2 separate regions of the Homo sapiens genome follow, and region 1 is linked to region 2. Evidence: promoter capture Hi-C in human tissues and cell types (Jung and others, 2019). All regions are on one chromosome and are shown on one strand. Each heading gives the region's core, a stretch centred on a gene start or on the middle of the fragment in contact. The rest is flanking DNA. Distances are from core to core; before and after follow the strand shown. Region 1 has its middle 55 kb from the start of KCNJ12. Region 2 holds the start of MAP2K3 (mitogen-activated protein kinase kinase 3).

Region 1 (5,138 bases), core at 1,334-3,833, 150 kb before region 2:
TGAGCCTGCCATCCTCTGGAGGCTCCAGGCAATGGCTCACTTGTCTCTTGGTGTCCATATGCCCTTTACCCAAGAGATGGCTCTGCTGCTCAGTAGGCCTGGGCTCTGCCCAAGGCTTCATGCCATGGCTAGGTTTACCCTTCCCTCTCTTCAGAAGAAGAAATCACTGACACTAAGTTCCTCTTATTGGACCCCATGGCAGGAACTGGGGTGCAGGACCTGCTCATCTTCCTGGGCAAGGGGTCTTGAGTCCCATACACCTATTTCTCCCTCCACTGCTAAGGGTCTCTGGCTGCTCTTGAGTCGAAGACAGATTCTTGTCCTGTTTGCTGCCCTCTGTAGCCTGTGAGCAGAACCAGAAGGGACACTCTCACAGCCTGTTCGCCACGGAATCCAGGAGGCAGGTCCATTTTGGTGAGTTTGAGATCCTGAGAGAGCATGATTAAGAATCATGTGATCAATAATCTTACATGGGTTTCATTGAGATCTGTCTCGTTTCCGTGTTATTCATTTTTAAAATTGATTGATCCTGTGTATAGTGTAGGTGCAAAACTAAGTAAAAAATAAATACATACTACATATATATACATTGATTTTAAAAATATGGTCTTCTGATCCTTCTCCACCAATCTCAAATAAAGAATTCTTTTCTACATGGATTTCTAAATTGTGGGGCATGGAATCTCAGCTGTTCAGGCACATGCAGGCTGCATTCTGCAGGGTCCAGCCCCTGAGACAGCTCCTGTGGGTCCCACCAGTCTGCCAGAGGCTAGCAGCACTATCCAGCCCAGCTCACCAAAAGGGAATGGCATGGCCCAGAGACTCCTGCATTGGGCAGGTGGCAGGGGGCAGGGAAACTGGTCCACAGCCTGCACTGCAGTGTGGGGCTTAGCCCTGGAAGCCTGCCCCATGCCTAGCAGGGGGTCGGTCCCTGCTCAACCTATTCTAGACTACTGCCCTGCTCAGCCTCTGCCCTGCCCAACCTATTCTAGACTACTGATGTTTAAATCTCCCAAGAGTCCCCATCCCTAGGTCTTTCCATCCCAATAATAGATTTAGAAAAATGGGAGTTGGGAAGGGAAGATGAAAGTCTACTGCTTCAGTGGGCAGCCCTTGGGTTTCATTACCTGATTTGGGTACATGTTTTTTCCAAACTGGCAAATGTGGACACCACAGAATGCAGTCAGATGGCAGAAAGATGATCCCAACTCCATACAAATGAAAAAATGGAACCAAAGTTCCAGGGCTCACTAAAATGCAGAAGAAACCAAACAAAATTCTTCATCATCTGAAGCTCACAGCCACCTCAGGCACCTGAGCAAAGAATGTGCTCTCCTGACTAGAGTTTAGGCCCACATCACAAAGCATCCTGAGCTCTGGGAGGGCACGAAGGAGGCAGGTGAACCCTTCCCACCATCCAGCCCAGTGAATCTCCAAGCCCACTGGGCCACCAGATTCTCACATCATTTGTCACTGGGGAAATGAAACTCAAAACCATAATGAGATAGCACTTCACACCTACTAGGATGCCTGTAATGTTTTTAATGGAAAATAACAAGTGTTGGCAAGGATGTGGAGAAATTGGAACTCTTGTATATTGCTGGTGGGAATGGAAAATGGTGCAGCCGCTGTGGCAAACGGCATGGAGTTTCCTCAAAAAGTTAAACATAGAATTACCATATGGCCCTGCATTTCCATGCCTAGGTATAATCCCGAAAGCATTGAAAATAGGGACTCAAACAGATACTTGCATGCCAGTGTTAATAGCAGTATTATTCATAACAGCCAAAAGGGGTAAACAACCCAAGTGTCCAGCAACAGATGAAGGAGTGGGGAGTGCATCAAATGTGGTGTATACATACAATGGATTGTTATTCAGCCATAAAAAGAATGAAGTCCTGATACACACAACCACATGGATGAATGCTGAAAAAATGATGCTAAGTGAAACAAGCTAGTCACAAAAGGCCACATGTTGTGTGATTCCATTTATACAAAACAGCAAATGCCTTAGTCTGTTATGTGTTGCTATAAAGGAATCCCTGAGGCTAGGTAATTTATAAAGAAAAGAGATTTGCTTGGCTCACAGTTCTGCAGCCTGTATAGGAAGCATGGCACCAACATCTGCTTCTGGTGAGGCCTCAAGGAGCTTCCACTCGTGGCAGAAGGGGAAGGGAAGCCAGTGTGCACAGAGGTCACAGGGCAAGACTGGAGGCAAGAGAGAGAGGGAGGAGGTGCCAGGCTCTTTTTAACAACCAGCTCTCCCAGGAACTAGTAGAACAAGAGCTCACTCACCCTGAGGGAAAGCACTAATCTATTCATGAGGAATCCACCCCCATAACCCAGATACCTCCCATTAGGCCCCATCGCCAACACTGGGGATAAATCTCAACGTGAGATTTTTAAGGGGTCAAACATGCAAACTACAGCATTCTCCCCTATTGAATGCTACCAAACATTTAAAGAAGGATTAAAGCCTATCCATTCCCCACCAGGTGGCTGTCTCCACAACATGGCTTTTTCCCCTTGAAGACCATCAGAAGAGCCTGTATCTCCGCATCTGCGGAAATCGTCTTTGCCATGTAATGTGCCATAACCATGGGAGTGACATCGCATCACATCCCAGGGCCACCGCTGAGGAGGAGGGTGAGGATCTTGACCCTTATCTTAGAATTCTGCCCTGCCTGGCTTCCACTTGTCCTCTTCTAAATCTATCTTAACTCATTCCTTTGGTGCCTGTTTTTACTGCCTTAATTTTGGCAATAAAGGGAGGAATAAAAACACATCTTTTTTTTCTTTTTTTGAATTCTCATTACATCCACACACAAGAAATGTGTCACATGAAGGAAGTGTATTTAGAATACCAGTTTTCCTATTTGGTTCATGATATTTTTCCAGGGTAAAATTGCCAACAGAATTTGGAAGCCCAAAGCAGGACATGATATAAATTAATGCTGGTGATCTGTAAATTATATTTTATTTCATAAAATGGTAAATTTTCCCCTTTAGTCTGGTCAATTTTATGCAATTTGGCATCACATTTTATAAACGTATTACCCTTTTGAACATTTACTGAACTGAATGCACAAAGAGAATTATAAAAGAAAATCTGGAAGCACTTGTTGGTTTTATTTTAAGGTTGGAAAAGAATATAAAATGGAATGCATGTATTAATTTTGGCATGGATATATTCATTTCCTGTGGCTGCTGTAACAAATTAGCACAAACTTGGTGGCTGAAGACAACAAATATTTATTCTGTCACAGTTCAGAGGCCAGGAGTCCTAAACCTGCCTCACTGGGCCGGAATCAAGGTGTCAGCAGGGCCGCGCTCCCTCTGCAGGCTCCGGGAGACCCCAATCCTCGCCTCCTCCAGTTTCTAGTGGCTGCTGGCCACCTCCACCCTCTGCCTCCGTGGTCACATGGCCACCTCCTCTTCTGTCTGTAGTAAAATCTCCCTCTGCCTCCCTCTGATAAAGACACATGTGATTGCATTTAGGACCACCTGGGTCATCTATCATAATCCCCCACTTCTCAAGACCTTAATTTAAATCACATCTGCAAAGATCCTTTCTCTGTGTCAGGGAACTGTCCTAGGTTCCAGGGGTGAGGGCCTGGATAATTCAGGGGCCGTGATTCCACCCACTGCAATGTGTCTTCTCTGACCCTGCTTGAGTGTGCTGGCAAGGACTGCTGCCTTGTCATCCATTCGTATTAGTGTCTGCAGCATTTGGCAATATGGTGTTTCTATTGAGAGAAAGTCATAATCAAGTAAAATTCTTTTTTTTTTCCTTTGCCTGAGAGAGAAAAATCTCCATTCCACTATTCTCCCAGATCAGCTGCTTTTGGAAGGCAGGGAACAAGGCAGCATCAGTGAATTCCACAAGCACTGACCCGTTGCCACATTCCTTTGATATAAAGTAGCTTCCTGAGTCAGAGCAATTCTGAGTGGGACACCATGATGGTGAAAAGGTCTGTGGTTAACAGATCATACTTCCATGGAAGGATTGCGGGCAGAGAAGATAAGCCCATATTCAGAGTAAGTGCCTCTTCCAGGGAGAACATCTTGCTGCCCTCTTCATCCTGGAAGTGATCAAATGCAATCAGTCTGCCACGGGGATCCTGGGAAAAGGTGTCACCTCAGGCTTTTCCTTGGCTTGTAGACAGCCATCTTCTCCCTGTGTCCTCACATGGTTGACCCTCTGTGCACACCTTCATTCTAATCTCTTCTTATAAGGACATCAGTCCGATTGAATTAGGACCACCCTCATCACCTCACTCAACTTTAATTACCTGTTTAAAGATCCCATCTTCAAATGCAGTCACATTCTGAGGCACCAGGGTTAGGGCTTCAACATATGAATTGCGGGGACACAGCCCATAGCATGAGGAAAACAGCTCCCTTGCATTTGGTGGGCGAGCACAGGAGGAGCCAGGGGTGGAAAAGTCCTTTGATAGGTGAGGGATGATTCGGATGAAAGGGACAGAAAATGCAATTTAGAAAGTGGAGTTTGGGTACAGCCTCATCACGGGAGCTGCTCTGCGTTCTCGGGTCATGCAGGCTGGCATCTAATGCCAACTTTCCCCTGTCCATCAGCGCCTGTAGCCTCCACGTCCTCCTCACCCATGGTGGCCTCCACGGACCCCACTCAGCCCCTTCCATCAGCACCACCTGCTCCCCATCTATCACTTCTTCCTGGGAGAGCCCCACTCTTGGTCTTTTCTAAGCCTGCTTCATAGTAAGTGGCTGAAACCTGTGGGATAAGCTCCCATTAGCTTGTAGATTCTGCTGCCATAAATGTATGGTCTGACCATTGGTCAACTCCAACACTGTGTGGGAACTGTCCATCCATCCGTGCGTCCATCCGCCCATCTGTCTGTCCATTCATCCATTACAGATAATTTGAAAAGTGCCTTCCTTATGAGCTAGAATGTCTGTGCACAAAACAGACAAAGTTGGCTGCTTCTTGGAGCTTACATCAGAGATCTCCAAACTTTTTCTATAAATGGTGAGATATTAAATATTTTAGGCTTTGTAGGCCATATGGTCTCTGTCACAACTACTCAATTCTGCCATGGTTTTGTAAAAGCAGCCATCAACAATTCATGAACAATTCATGAAATGAGTGTGGTTCTGTG
Region 2 (5,243 bases), core at 157-2,656:
ACAGAAGCAGGTGCGATTACTTCCAATTTACAGAAAAGGAAACTGAGGCCCAGAGACACCAGGGAGCTTGCTGGGGTGAAGCAGCTGCAGGTTCAGAAAGCCAGGAGGCAGCCCATTCATTACGGCTATGTCCGGTTTGGAAATCTCTCGCACAACCCAGCCTACTGAAACTCCGACGCACCAAAAACATCCTTTCCTCTTCCTGAAAAAAAAAAAATTCCCCTTTTGCCCTCCGAGTTTCATCCTTCCCCCTCCGCATGACAAATCCTGCTGCTGCCACCTCACAAAAATTTCCAGGAAGGCCAGCTACTTGGAGAAGAGCAAATCCCTTGCACAGCCAGCACCCTGGCCTGGCGGCTGGCCCAGATCCCAGGCAGCCAGGACAAGAATAAGATGGGGTGAGAACCCCCAGTGCAGGGAGAAGCTTGCAACTCAAGACAGAGAGAGGCCGGTAGAGAGGGGGCTGTACCTTAGGGAGGGGTGGGAGGACAAGGAAGGTTCCTGGGAGCCCAGGGCTGCAGGACAGGGTGCAGGCCAGCCAGGGAAGGGGCAACATAGGGCCTATAAGGATAAGAAGAGCTGGGGGAGAGAAGGACGGGGAGTTCCGAGCTGGGGTGTAGCCAGAGCACCCGCATAGGGGGTACAGTGAGGTCCGCAACAACAGGAGCACTCTGGGGCCCAGATGGAGACTCAAGTTAAATCCCAACCTGGATACAGCCCTGGGACCCGAAGCTAGAAATGGGACTGGGTGCTGCCCAAGGACCCAGGTGAAGGCCAGTGTGAATCTCACCTGGGTCCCGCTGAGGGAGAAGACTGGGAGAGTTCATGTCCAGGCTGCAGCCATAAGGCCCAAATGAGGTCAGAATGAGGCTCCTGACTTGGATGGGGTGAGCAGAACAAAGTCCTAGTCTGGGTCCAGCCTGGGTGATCTCGGGCCTGAGTGCAGTCCCAAGGCCTAACGTGGGGGTCCAGGTGAGGGCCCAGGCGGGGGCTGGTCCCGGGACCCCGAACAGGAAGGGGTTCCGGGACCGGACGCCGCTGCCAGGTCGAGAACAGGATGGGGTGGGACCAAAGAAAGGTCGGGGTTTGCAGCCCGGCCCCAGATTAGGCGCGGGGTCAGGCCGAGGTCCCGGCCGGGAGCGCCTACCTTTGGACTGGGGCATGCTGGCGGGCTGGCTCGAGGCGGGCGACTCCATGCTGCAAGTGGGTCCTGGACGGCGGTGGAGACTAATCTAGAGGACTGCGGGCTCCACCGGGGCCGAGCACGCTCATGGCTGCGGGCAGACGGCCCAGGCCAGGCGGAGGAGCAGCGGCGGCGGCGGCGGCGGCGGCGGCGACTGCGGCGAGGACTGCGGCGGCGACTGCAGCAAGGACGAGTCCGCGACGGGCGGCGCCGGAGACAGACTGGGCAGCGCCGGGGAGACCCCGGCCGAACTGCGCTGACTCAGGCCCCGCCCCTGCGTGCCCGATTGGTCCTTTCGTTTCCAAGGCCCGTCCTCTGCCTATCAGACGCCGGCCTGTCCCTGCCTGTCAAGCACACGCCCCACCCTCCTTAGGCCCAGGATCCGGGCCCCTCCCGCTCTCTGTCAAGTCCGCCAGCCGCCCGAAAAACCCAGGTCCGGTCAGGCTCCGCCCCCTGGACTAAAGCCGCGCCCCTCGCGCTGCCCGTCAACATGCAAGCCCCACCCACTCCCGGGACCCACTGAGCCCGCTGCTCCCTGCAGGCGCCCAGGCCCAGCCCGGCACCCCCAGACCCGCAGCCCCGGCGGGTGCGATGCGCGGGCGCGTTCTCCTGGGTGCGTCGTCTGGAAAAAACCCGAGATCCCTAAAGGTGGCACGGCTGGGCCTGCCGAAGTGGGCGGGGGTTAAAAGTGCGCTGCTGGGCTGCCTCCTGGCTCTCTGAACCTGCAGCTGCCTCACCCTAGCAAGCTCCCTAGTGTCTCTGGGCCTCAGTTTCCTTTTCTGTAAATTGGACCCGGGTTCGGATCCGAGTCGGCAGCTTTGTAGCGGAACTAGCCTTGGTCAGGTGGTGACACCTGAGCCTCAGTCTACGCATCTGTGAGCGGGCGGCGGTGACAGCTATCTCCCGGCGCTGCTCGCTAACACGCACTGAGGGCCTGGCGCCAGCAAACGTCGCCCGCGCCCGCGCTCCAGGCGCCCGGCCAGGGCGCGGGGTCGGTGGTGAGCTCAGCGATGCCCGGTGACGAGGCAGCACGAGGAGTTTTCGTGGCTGGTTACTGCTGCCCCTGTTCTACACAGGGGGAAACCGTGTCTCAGAGGGAGTGAGGCGGCATGCGGTGCATTTTATCCCGCGAGCCCCGAGGCCCCATCCTGGCTCTCTCCTGGACCTTCGTTCTCTCCTCTCCTCCTAGGATCTCAGTCTGCCCATCTGCATAATGGCTGGATGGGCCAGTCCTCCCTCTGCTCCCACACGGAACCTCGGGGGATTTCAGGAACCGCTGACCAATCTGGCGCTGGGAACAGATGACTCTGGATGTAAAGCCAGGGCTAGTGAAGGCAGAATGTACCAGGCAAAGGTCAAGGGGTCAGCCCCTGGCCTCCAGGCAGACATGTGTACCCTGTCAGGGACCTCACGTGAGGGAAGCAGATTCCACCACCTGCTAGAAAGGCTTGAGGCCGGGCCTGACCTCTGCTTGCCCAGGTGTAAAGTGGGGGTGATGCAGGGCCCCATGCACAGAGTGGGGAGCCACAGGAGATAAGAGGGAAGCCTTGCAGCCATCACCATTCTCTTCCTGCGTCTCCTGTTCACCCTTCCCAGGCAGTGGGATGGAAAATCATGAGTCTGGGGCTCAGATAGGTATGGGTTCCAATACCAATTCCTCCACTTACTAGCTGGATGACCTTAAAGAAGTCACTGAGCAGCTCTGTGCCTCAGTTTACCTATCCCATGGGGACAATAAGGTCTCTGAAAGCGTTTCATGAGTTCAGGAGTGGAAACACCTGGCCTAGGGCTTGGCACTCACTAGGTGCCCAGGAAATGTGAGTTTGAAAACACTGTGGGCTGCCTCCATCCTTGCCATATCATCCCTGGTGACCTGTGCTTATCCGTCTGTAAAATGGGCATCCAGGAGCAGCTTCCTTTCTACCAGAACTGCAAGGCTAGTCCAGCGAGTTTTCTGGGTTCAGGCACTGGCCAACAGCCTTGACTTCTGCACAAGGCCACACTCCGCCTTGTGCACTCTGCTTCTTGGGATGTTCAAGAGTCTCAGTATTGCCCCTCAAATGTGCCAGGGATGGTCCTGCCGCAGCAGCTTCACCCTTGCTGCTCCTGCCCAGAACATTCTTCCACTCAAGCCTCCTGGGGCTGGTTCCCTCTCATCCCTCAGACCGCTTCCTAAATGAACACCCCTAAGAGGCCTTCTCATCATGGTCCCCAGACTGAGGCACAACACTTATGCTGCTGATGTCTTTGTTACTGACTCAGTTTTTAACACAGCTCTCCCTCCAGACCATCCGAGCCTCATTCCCTGCTGTGTTCCCAATGCATAGCCCAGAACCAGGCACATAGTAGGTGCCTGATAAATATTTGAGGAATGAAAAAAGGAAGGAGGAAAGCATCCACAGACCAGGGTGAAGCGACTCCAGTCCCGTGCCAACCTCCTTGGCGGCCAGATGACTCAGACAGGCCCTCGCATACAAGGAGTTTGGGGATTAGTCAGGAGCCCGATAAACAGCTCAGGAATCACAAAACTCCATGTGAGTGCTATAAATAGATGCATGAGCAAAAGTCCCAGGAGGGTGCCTGGGTGATGCAGCCATCTCCATCTGGGTGGGGACAAGGAAGGCCTCTCAGAGGAGGTGATTTTGAGACTGGACTTTTAAGGACCAGTAGGAGCTTACCAGGCAGAGAAGCAAGAAGAGCATCCCTGGAAAGGAACAGCAGAGGCAATGGGTTGGAGATGTAAAAAGGGCCACACATGAGGACCAGGTGAGGGCCAGACTGGGATGCACAGCTGCACCACTGGAGCTCAAGAAGTACCATCAAGAACCATCAGAGACAAAGGTCTCTTGCTGGCTTGCTATAGTGACATCTCTTGATTTCTTTCTGTCTGTAAGTGGCACAGTCAGATTGGGGAACTCCATGACCATGCAGAAAGCAGAATAAATGTTTGACATGGGTCACAAGAGGCTGCCTCTTACCTTGATTCCTAGGAGAAAAGTCCCAAACCTGCTCTCTGTGGATGCAGGAAACTGAGTCTCTGGATGGGAAGGATTGTGGCCAAAGTCAGGATGCAAGCATGATCTGAGGTGGGCAGGACCTGGGGTGACAGAAGGCTGTAAAGAGAGGCTGACTCAATAGCATTAACTATAAGTTTTGTGCTTCCAAATCACTTTTTGGTTTTTAAGAATTTCTTGATACTATTGTAGCCTGCCTTCGATTTTGATCCTTTATTCTTTCTATTTGTCAGGTGCACAAGATTACCTTCCTTTTTTAGCCTTCTGTCTTGTCACCAACCATTCCTACTTGGTGGCCATGTACTTGGAAAAAGGCCGCATGATCTTTCTGGCTCCAATCAATGTCTAAGGCACCCTGCTTCCTTTGCTTGCATCCCACAGACTATTTCCCTCATCCTATTTACTACAGCAAATCTCTCCTTAGTCGATGAGATTGTGTTTATCTCCCTTTAAAACCCTACCTATCCTGAATGGTCTGTCATTGTCTGCCTTTAAAATCCTTCCTCTTTCTTCTTCCTCTATTCTTTAAATAATGATGGGGCTAAGTTATACCCAAAGCATCACTTTACAAAATATTTCCTCGGTACTTTGCAGAAAACACCAAACAAAAATGCCATTTTAAAAGAGGTGTATTTTTTCTTTTAAAATGTAAGCTCCTCAAGGGCAGGGAAATGTTTTCTGTATGTTCTATTGTGCCTAGTACACTGTAAATGCTCAATAAATACTGATGATGGGGGAAAAAAAAGAGAGAGGCTGACCCAAACCCAGGATGTGGGCAGCTCCTTCATTCATTCAACAGATATTCATTGAGCACTTACTGTGTGACTGGCACTGAGAACACAACATTGAACAAGATGGACACAACTCCCTGGGGAGGTATGACCTGGTGTGTGAGCCAGACAAGCAAAATGCCTAAGTCAAATTATGTCAGGCCAGGCATGGTGGCTCACACTTATAGTCCCAGCAGTTTGGGAGGCCGAGGCAGGTGGATCGTTTGAGCCCAGCAGTTTGAGACCAGCCTGGGCAACATGGCAAAACCTCGTCTC

The links. The method cuts DNA at HindIII sites, captures the fragments that hold promoters and counts their contacts. A contact is called where the count stands out against the background at its distance.
Region 1: a contact is called between a fragment that was not itself captured here and the fragment with the promoter of MAP2K3 in region 2, in 2 of the 25 tissues and cell types used here (dorsolateral prefrontal cortex and spleen).

What each region holds. Positions count from the first base shown.
Region 1 is chr17:21,428,946-21,434,083 of GRCh38, reverse strand. No RefSeq gene overlaps it. Among named protein-coding and RNA genes, the nearest start is that of KCNJ12, 55 kb to the right of the region's middle. The HindIII fragment of the contact is 9,626 bases long and covers 1-5,138 here.
Region 2 is chr17:21,280,874-21,286,116 of GRCh38, reverse strand. It overlaps MAP2K3 (mitogen-activated protein kinase kinase 3), which reads right to left and starts at 1,406. Exons shown (of 12, transcript NM_145109.3): 1 at 1,148-1,406. The coding sequence starts at 1,196. RefSeq lists a silencer at 1,418-1,947 and an enhancer at 1,834-2,334. The HindIII fragment of the contact is 7,420 bases long and covers 1-5,243 here.